Linked DNA regions of Homo sapiens: regions 1 and 2 are each linked to region 3. The links are contacts of gene promoters, found by promoter capture Hi-C in human tissues and cell types (Jung and others, 2019). All regions are on one chromosome and are shown on one strand. The core of a region is centred on a gene start or on the middle of the fragment in contact, and the rest is flanking DNA. Distances in the headings are between cores, read along the strand shown.

What was found. Contacts are between HindIII fragments. The study calls those that stand out against the background at their distance.
Region 1: a contact is called between a fragment that was not itself captured here and the fragment with the promoter of PXN in region 3, in 3 of the 25 tissues and cell types used here (dorsolateral prefrontal cortex, hippocampus and pancreas).
Region 2: a fragment that was not itself captured here is called in contact with the fragment with the promoter of PXN in region 3 in 1 of the 25 tissues and cell types used here (liver).

Annotation. Positions count from the first base shown.
Region 1 is chr12:120,048,077-120,051,352 of GRCh38, reverse strand. The region is part of intron 2 of BICDL1 (BICD family like cargo adaptor 1); the gene reads right to left. It overlaps LOC124903114 (small nucleolar RNA U13), which reads right to left and starts at 2,923; the gene lies at 2,825-2,923. The HindIII fragment of the contact is 5,126 bases long and covers 1-3,276 here.
Region 2 is chr12:120,454,615-120,457,707 of GRCh38, reverse strand. GATC (glutamyl-tRNA amidotransferase subunit C) reads right to left here. Exons shown (of 4, transcript NM_176818.3): 3 at 529-632. Among named protein-coding and RNA genes, the nearest start is that of GATC, 9.7 kb to the right of the region's middle. The HindIII fragment of the contact is 8,224 bases long and covers 1-3,093 here.
Region 3 is chr12:120,264,226-120,267,355 of GRCh38, reverse strand. It overlaps PXN (paxillin), which reads left to right and starts at 1,626. Exons shown (of 15, transcript NM_001385981.1): 1 at 1,626-1,739. The coding sequence starts at 1,727. RefSeq lists silencers at 1,319-1,598, 1,759-1,908. The HindIII fragment of the contact is 15,906 bases long and covers 1-3,130 here.

The DNA of each region.
Region 1 (3,276 bases), core at 516-3,015, 220 kb after region 3:
TCCAGGGGGCTGGGCTCAGTGGCTCACGCCTGTAATCCCAGCACTTTGGGAGGCTGAGGCAGGCAGATCACGAAGTCAGGATTTTGAGACCAGCCTGGCCAACATGGTGAAATGCCGTCTCTACTAAAAATACAAAAATTAGCCAGGTGCGGTTGTGTGTGCCTGTAATCCCAACTACTTGGGAGGCTGAGGCAGGAGAATTGCTTGAACCCGGGTGGTGGAGGTTGCAGTGAGCCGGGATCACGCCATTGCACTCCAGCTCTAGGCACTCCAGCTCTGGGCGACAGAGCAAGACTCTGTCTCGGGGGAAAAGAAAAAAAATCTCCAGGGAAGAGGAAAATGTAAAGTACAACCTTCTCAGATTTGGAAAAGATCCAAGATATCTAGAAATACAAAATAATAACTTAAAATTAAAAACCCAGGCCAGGCCCAGTGGCTCATGTCTGTAATCCCAGCACTTTGGGAGGCCAAGGTGGGAAGATCACTTGAGGCCAGGAGTTCAAGACTAGCCAAGGCAACACTGAAGAATTCTGTCTCTAATAAAAATTAGCTGTGCGTGGCACACAACTGTTAATCCCAGCTACTTGGGAGGCTGAGGCATGAGAATTGCTTGAACCTGGGAGGCAGAGGTTGCAGTGAGCCAAGATCGTGCCACTGCATTCCAGCCTGGGCAACAGAGTAAGACTCTGTCTCAAGCAAAAACAAAAAATGTCACAAAACCCAATGGGTAGTATCAAAATTAAAGACTTCTAAGCATTAGAAGACATCATTAAGAAAACAGATCTAGGCCAGGCGTGGTGGCTCACGCCTGTAATCCCAGCACTTTGGGAGGCTGAGGCAGGTGGATCACGAGGTCAGGAGATCGAGACCATCCTGGCTAACACGGTGAAACCCTGTCTCTACTAAAAACACAAAAAAATTAGCTGGGCGTGGTGGCGGGCACCTGTAGTCCCAACTACTTGGGAGGCTGAGGCAGGAGAATGGCGTGAACCCAGGAGGTGTAGCTTGCAGTGAGCCGAGATCACGCCACTGCACTCCAGCCTGGGCGACAGAGTGAGACTCCATCTCAAAAAAAGAAAAAAAAAGAAAAAAAAAAAAGAGAATAGATCTATAAAGCTCAGACTGGGAGAAAATGTTTATAACACATATATCTGACTTGTATTCAGAATATATAAAAACCTCTAACTCAATAAAAAGACGCGTAATTTTTTAAATGAGCAAAACATTCGAACAGATACTTCAAAGACAAAAATAAATGAATGGCCAATAGGCACATGAAGAAGTGCTCCCCATCATTAGTGACCAGGGAAATGTAAATTAAAACCACAATGAGATACCACTACATACTCATAAGAAGGCTACAATTAAAAGGAACAACAACACAAAATACTGGGAATGTCAACAACTGGAATTCCCACACACTGTTGGTGGGAGTGTAAAATGGCATAACCTACTTTGGAGGAATAAAAAGCTTTCCAGTTTCTTCTTAACCTAATGGACAGAGTTTAAGAACACATGTGACAACTGAAGAGAAAATTACCAAATTGGAAGACTAGTCAGAAGGAATTATCTACACTACAATACAGAGATAAAGATGGAAAATAGAAGCACTACGTTAGTATAGTCCCCATATGTTTAAACTGCAGTTCCAGAAAGGACAGAGTGAATGGGACCGAGGCAATACTTGATGAGATAATGGCTGATAATCTCCTAACAATGAAAGACACCAATTCACAAACTCAAGATGCCCAATGAAAACAAAGCAGAAGAAATAAAACGAAATCCACACCTAGATATATCATAAAGAAACTGCAGAGCGCCAGACTAAGATAATCTGAAAAAGAAGATAAAAGACAACCTTTCCAGAGAAAACACTTGGTTCCCCTAACGACCACAAATACGGCCCATGTTAGCAGATCTCTTTAAAATAAAAAGACACATATAAAAATGTAATATGAAAAGACATTTTCTTGCTGAAATCTTTTAGTACTTCCCTATTACAAACAGGCACAAAAAGCCTTCCAAGGCCAGTCACCTGCCAACCTTCTATCTCCTGTAACTCTGTCCCCTTTATCCTTGTTCTTTCCCTAGGCATGCTTCTTCCCTATTTTTCACAGGACTAACTCTGTCTTTCTAGACTTAGCTATAGCATCATCTCTTCCCAGAAGCTTTCTGTGCTCCTTGGCATTCCAGAGGGACCCTCCTTTGCGTTCTCAGAGCACCCCAGGCACAAACTCTAGCAGAGGACATATTACATTTTATGAGTTATCTTCTTATGAGTCCTTCACCTCATTTGAAGCTTTTTAAGGACAGTGACAGCATCTAATTCATTTTTGCATTCCCAGTAGCTAGTCCAGTACCTGGCCAAGAAATGCCTGAACTGAACTGAATGAAGGATCTTTCAAGGCTGAAACAAACTGTCCTTGAGAAATAAAAGTTTAAAGGTACAGTAGGTAACTACAGAATGAAAATAAGAAAAAAATCTCCAAGAAACTAGAGTAGACACACAGACCCCAAATTAAAAAAAAATGTCAACAAAAGTTTAATAAGCCTTTCTGTGTGGCTAGATTTATCCTAGGTACTGGGGATGAAACAGAGAAGGCAGATCTGGTACCATCTTAGATTTCAAGGATGTCAGAGCTGGACCTTGCCAAAATAAAAGAAAATCAGTTAAGTGAACTCCTTCATTACACAGATGAGGAAACTGAGGCCCAGAGGAGATGCCTTGGTCACAGAGTGAGTAAGGGATAGGTAACCAAATGAGATAGGGAAAAAATGGAAAAGCAAATCACAGGAAACAAGAACCTGTAATTTTTTTTTCCCACATCAGACAGGCAATGTGCTGACACTATAAGGTTTGAGGAAGACACACCTCAAACAAGTGTGAAAGCCCAATCATCATGTTTATGAACTACAAAAAGATCAAGGACCTGTAATTTTAACAGCAATGCACTTGACAGTGAAAGGCTAAAGGAGAAGAAACTAAAACAAAACTTAAGCTTAGCAGAATCCAGATGTTTGCAAATATGGAGGTTGTATTATCTTAACAATCAGGAGAAATAAAGCCTAAGAGTTCAAGGCTACAGCAAGCTATGATCGTGCCTGCAAATAGCTTCTGTACTCCAGCCTGAGCGACACAGTGAGACCTCTCCCTCTTAAAAAAAAAAAGGTAAATTCATAAGACATCAACATCTAGGGAGAAAGGTGAAAGAAAAAAAACTGTGTTGATAACATCAAACAAAGATCAGGAATTTCAGTAATAATGAGGCTGGGGAG
Region 2 (3,093 bases), core at 565-3,064, 190 kb before region 3:
TTGAACCCGGGAGGTGGAGGTTGCGGTGAGCCGAGATTGCACCATTGCACTCCAGCCTGGGCAACAAGAGCGAAACTCCGTCTCAAAAAAAAAAAAAAAAAAAAAGGATTCTTTTAGGAAAGGACTGGTTTTTTTGTGGTACCCAGCCCAAAGCTAGACCTAACAAATATTTATTCATGGTATGAATACTAGAAAGTTGGAGTCGATTACAGGATCTGGCAGGGTCTTAACTGTGGCTTTGAGAAACACTGAATGCCAGCTGCCCCTTTAGGGAGATCTTGAGCTCCAGATTTCCACCTACTTTAAACCTCCCGCATGCCCCCAATCCTGTTTTGCTTGTTCCTGTTACTAACTGCCCCCTAGAGGTGAGTATGACCCTGGACCCTACTGCCACCTTAATGCCACCATCTGTATGCACTTCATCCTTTTCAAAGTGCCTTCACATAGCATCTTTGGTCCTCATGCTTCCTGCTTCATTCCTAAGGTTACTGTGAGACTATCTGTTAAACCATTCTGGGCAGCACGTACCTGGGGGGGCCACAAAGTACTCCTCCACGACGCGATGGGAGTTTTGTAGTAATTCATCAGCACAGTTGCCTTCTACCACATTGTCGGATCTCAGGTATAGACATCTACAAAACCCAGAAGCTCAAGGTTACCCTCTCAGAGAAGGGGGCTTTTAGGGGATGATGGAGAGGGGCAAGAAGGAGAGAACAAGGAAGCAGTATATTCTTGAGTTAATGGGCACTGTTCAAAGATAGAGAAGCTGGGATCAACAGTAGACCAAATAACAGCCTACAGTTTATAGATTGACCGAACAACCCTGAGAAGTAAGTGCTAATTACTTCTCTGGATTGATTTAACAAATAGTTTTTGATGATTATATGGGCAACTGTCTTTTGGTGGGGACAGGTAAAAGCAATTACAAAAACAATATTTTAAATCTAACAGAGGTTAGTACAGCCTGCCAAAGGATAGAAAGGGTACCTAGTCCAGCCTGCGTGAGTAGCACATCCTCAGAATAGCTGATGTCACTGTTCAAGGATGGGCAAGAAATAGCTGGATTGGGGGATGAAGGTATGAGAAATGGACTTCCTGGCACGTATAGCAGCATGAATCCCAAAGCAATAGAGCCGAGAGCTCAGAGATTCAGAGAAGGACAGGGAGTTTAGCAGGCTGGGGTGTGGTCTGCCGGGGTGGAAGATGAAGCTGGAAAGCTAAGCAGAGATGGGGAAGCAAACTTGCCACAAGAGTAACTTAAGGATGTTGGCTGCTAAGTAACAACTGGGATCTCAGCCCAATCTGATACACCTAAAATGAATGCTTTTTCCACCACAGCCACTTTGGTGGATGTGCCTGCCCTTGAGCAAGATGTGCCACCAACAGCTCAAGAATCTCCCAGTGTTCTGTGGGACCTAGTGACTTTACTAAAGCCTTCAGATGGCAAACCGGTAAAAAACACACAAGAGCTTGAACATTTGCATGAGGCTTCACTATTGTTTCAAGGTGTAAAAGTGTGTAAGCCTGCTTCCAGATACTTAGATTAAAAAAATAAGCAGTCTGTTAAATCACTGATATGGTATTCGGTAGTAGCCACGCTCCTCCTGCTTTGAGTGGGCACAGACTGAGGGCAGACCCTAATGGCGTTTGAGTCATGTCAGAGAGGGACAAAGATGTGACAGGTACATCTGGGCTAAGGCTGCACATAAGAACTAAGTTGTCAGCCGGGCGCGGTGGCTCACGCCTGTAATCCCAGCACTTTGGGAGGCCGAGGTGGGCGGATCACGAGGTCAGGAGATCGAGACCATCCTGGCTAACACGGTGAAACCCCATCTCTACTAAAAATACAAAAAAATTAGCCGGGCGTGGTGGTGGGCGCCTGTAGACCCAGCTACTTGGGAGGCTGAGGCAGGAGAATGGCGTGAACCCGGGAGGCGGAGCTTGCAGTGAGCCGAGATCGCGCCACTGCACTCCAGCCTGGGCGACAGAGCGATACTCTGCCTCAAAAAAAAAGAGAACTAAGTTGTCACAATAAGATTATTTTAGGAAAGGACTAGTTCTTTTTTTGTGGCACCCAGCCCAAAGCTAGACACAACAAATATTTACTCATGGTATGAATATTAGAAAGTTGAAGTCTGTTACAGGACCTGGCACATTCTTAACTGTGTGGCCTTGAACAAGTATGATCTTTTCAGACATTAAATTTCTTGGAGGGGGGCGGCGGGGTGTGGGGGAGAAAGGCCAGGTGTGGTGGCTCTTGCATGTAATCCCAGCACTTTGGAAGGCTAAGGCGGGTGGATCACCTGAATTCAGGAGTTCAAGACCAGCCTGGGCAACGTGGGGAAACCACATCTCTACTAAAAATACAAAAACTAGCCAAGCGTGGTGGCACGCACGTGTGATCCCAACTACTCGGGAGGCTGAGGCGGGAGAATCGCCTGAACCCAGGAGGCGGAGGTTGCAGTGAGCTGAGATGGCACCACTGCACTCAAGCCTGGGCGACAGAGCAAGAAGAAAAAAAAAAAGGCCAGGCACAGTGGCTCAAGCCTGTAATCCCAGCACTTTGGGAGGCCAAAGCAGGTGGATCACCTGAGGTCAGGAGTTCGAGACCATCCAATATGGTGAAACCCTGTCTCTACTAAAAATATAAAAGTTAGCCGGGCATGGTGGTACATACCTGTAATCCCAGCTACCTGGGAGGCTGAGGCACAAGAATCACTTGAATGTAGGAAGCAGAGTTTGTAGTGAGCGGAGATCACACCACTGCACTCCAACCTGGGTGACAGAGTGAGACAGTGTCTCACACACACACACACAAAAGAGAGTTGTACTAGATTTTTTTTTTTTTTTGAATAACACAAGGACTGTATTCATTTAAGAAAACTTGGGAGAACAAAAGTAAAATAAAAATCATAATTATACTATTCAAAGGTAACCCTTGGACTTTCTGGAGTTTATAGTTTCTGTTGGACAGTATTAAAAAATGGCTAAGAGGCCGGGCGCGGTGCCTCATGCCTGTGATCCCAGCACTTTGGGAGACTGAGGCGGGCAGATCACGAGGTCAGGAGATCAAGACCATCCTGGCTGACAGGG
Region 3 (3,130 bases), core at 377-2,876:
CACCTGTAATCCCAGCACTTTGGGAGGCTGAGGGGGGCGGATCACCTGAAGTCAGGAGTTCAAGACCAGCCTGGCCAACATGGTGAAACCCTGTCTCTACTAAAAATACAAAAATTAGCCAGGCATGGTAGTACACGCCTGTAATCCCACCAGGAGGCAGGAGATCACCTGAGATCAGGAGTTCAAGACCAGCCTGGCCAACATGGTGAAACCCCATCTCTACTAAAAATACAAAAATTAGCCAGGCATGGTGGTATGCGCCTGTAATCCCAGCAGGAGGCAGGAGAATCACTTGAACCTGGGAGGCGGAGGTTGCAGTGAGCTGAGATTGCACCACTGCACTCCAACCTGGGCGACAGATTGGGACTCCATCTCAAACAAAAACAAAAACACAAAAACTAAAACAAAATAGAGGTATGTGCAAGATGCTGGAAAACCACGCAATAGAGTGTTTGAGGAACAGTCTTTGGTCTTGAATTTATTATAGGAGAATGTGGCAGCCACAGAAGCTGCTTGGATCTGCCTTTATAAAATGACTGAACATGGTGGGAGCATTGGAACCCGGATACTTCTGCCCAAGGAGACTTCTCATTTTTTTTGTCCTGGAATTCCCTGATGGGTTGACCTGTTTGTCAGATCTGAGTCTCCTTGCCCAACCCTGCTTATTTCCCCTTCTCTGTCACGGGCATTACCCCTAGCTTTATCTCAGCATCTCATCTGCTTTCTGGAGGACCTGATCTGACCCAGAAGGCCTGGATTCTTGAGGGACAAGGGGAACTCGAAGCTGTACTTGCAGAGCAGTTTTATATAAAATCCACAAACTGCCATCACCCATCCCAACGGGTAGGGAAGTACCTCTAGGAGGATTAATTTAGAGAATAGCTATATAGTGTCTGTCTATTCAGACACTCAATAAATGGTAGTTGTTATTATTACCCAATTTCCGAGTGTGTGGGAGCACTGGGTGTGACTTTCCTGTAGTTTTCCCTTTAATGTCTAATCTGGGGACCCCTCTGCCCCATGCAGTTTTGGAAAAGTGTCTAGGGAGGGTGGCTGTGTGGAAGTAATATTAAGAGAGATGGAACCACACAGGTATTGGGTTTGGGCCAGAAAGGGTGAACTGCGAGCTGCACTGCCATTGATCCAGAGGACGACCCCAGGAAAGGTCAGCCACGGGCTCCGGGCCTTGCCTGGTACTGATTTATGGTCCTCCTGGGTGGTGACCTACAGGTGACAGACGGACAGGTGGGCAAAACTGACTGTCCAGTGGACAGGCATGTGATGACCCAGTGGCTGACGAATGCACAGACACATGGCTGACTGTGGACGGATTTGTCATCCGCAGGGTCAGGCAAGTGACTTTGAGAGGGACAGAAAGATGGATGGGAGTGGCTGGAGGCCTGGGAGCCGCCCACCTGCCCGCTTAGCCGCGAGGGGGCGCCACCGCCCCGCCCAGCGACGCCCACTGCCCGGGCTCTTGGCGGGGGCGGGACCAGCGTGCGCAGGGGGCGGGGCCAGCAAGCTCGCGGGGGTGTCCGGGGGCGGGGCGCGCGTGCACAGGGGGCGGCCGGGGGCGGGGCGCGCGGCGGGCGCGGGCGCGGGCGCGCGCGGCGGCGGCGCGTTCCGTTCCGGGCCGAGGCTCGCGGCGGAAAAGTTGCGGGGCATAGACGAGCGGCCCCGGGACGGGCAGCTAGCGCGACCCTGAGCCGGCGCCCGTGGTCCGGCCATGGACGACCTCGGTGAGTGAGCGGGAGGCCGAGGGAGGAGGAGGCGAGAGGCGCGCAGCTTGGGGCCAGGAGGGCGCCAGCGAGCGGCAGGGGCCGCGGGATCCCACCCTCGGCGGCCCCGGCCTCAGCTCCTGTCCCTGCCGGCCGGGGCTCCGCGGGGCTGGGATCCCTAACCGGGCCTTAGTCTCGGGCCAGGCCGGCCCCGGCACCGACCGCACAGCAGCGACCCCCCGTCTGGGACGGCTTCACCTCTGGACCCCCGACCTCGGGGACCCATCACCATCTCCCAGAAGGGCCCCAGGGACCAGCCCGCCCCTCAGGGACCCACCCCGTCCGCTGCAGGGACGAGACTTCCTGCGGCAGACCACCTCGTCAGCTACGGGACCCTCACCTCGCAGACCTCTCCCCACCCCCACCTCACAGATCGACCGCCCAACTCGGGGAGCAGCTGCCCGATCTCATGGGCTGCTCCCTCATTTCCTCGACCTGCTCCCCGTCCCTCCAGGGCCGCCCCCCACTTCACAGACTAGCACCCCCCTTCAGGGATAACCCCTCGGAGCCCACCCCTTTCATTTCACAAGTCAGATGCAAAAGCTAGAGATGAGCGTGTGATGACCACACCCCCATTTCAAAGACAAGTTTCCCAGTCTGCCTGCTCTTCTGACCCCCCACTTCAAATCTGGTCACCCCGTTTCAAGGACCCATCACTCATTTTCTCTCACTGACCTCCCCGCTCTGTGGACCAGCCCCTCAATTCACAGACCAGTCCGTCTACCATGGTATCTAAGTCTAGAACGGTAATTTGGGAGTCCTGATTCTCTCCCCACCCCTAGATTCTGGTGAAATGCCAGGGGAATGAGGTGGAAGGTGGGCCCCAAGGTATGACCATCCCTGAACGTGTCCTGGCTAGCAGAGTCCCCTCCACCCTCTCTGCGTCAGGCCCTGCTGGAAGCCACGCAGGTGAAAGAGGACAGGATGCCCAGAACAGAGTTTTACTGTTTTCCTGTTATTGGAGCCCCAAGGCTACTCTTTTCAGTCCAGTCTTGATCTGGTGTTAGGGGAAAGAAAGTATCTCCTGGAAGCCGACTCTAAACCCAAGGGGGTTGGTGCCAGGGTTCTAGGAATGCCTTGGGTGGCGTGAACGCAGGAGTGGGAGGATTCGCTGTCTCTCCCTCCCCTTCACGCCTGTAGCTGGAGGGCCCTGAGCTTGGGAGGTGAGGAGGGGGGCAACGTTTCTTCTCTGCAGGAGCCTTGTCTTTCCTCTCTGGACTGTGGGTGGCTTGTGTGACCACTGATGCTTCCTCTGTCCCAGGCTCTGAGGAGTAGATTCAGCAGACAGGACTGATGGACCTCTACCAAGCAGCGCCGGGCACTAAGTTAAGACTGGCTATTTGTAGGTGCTG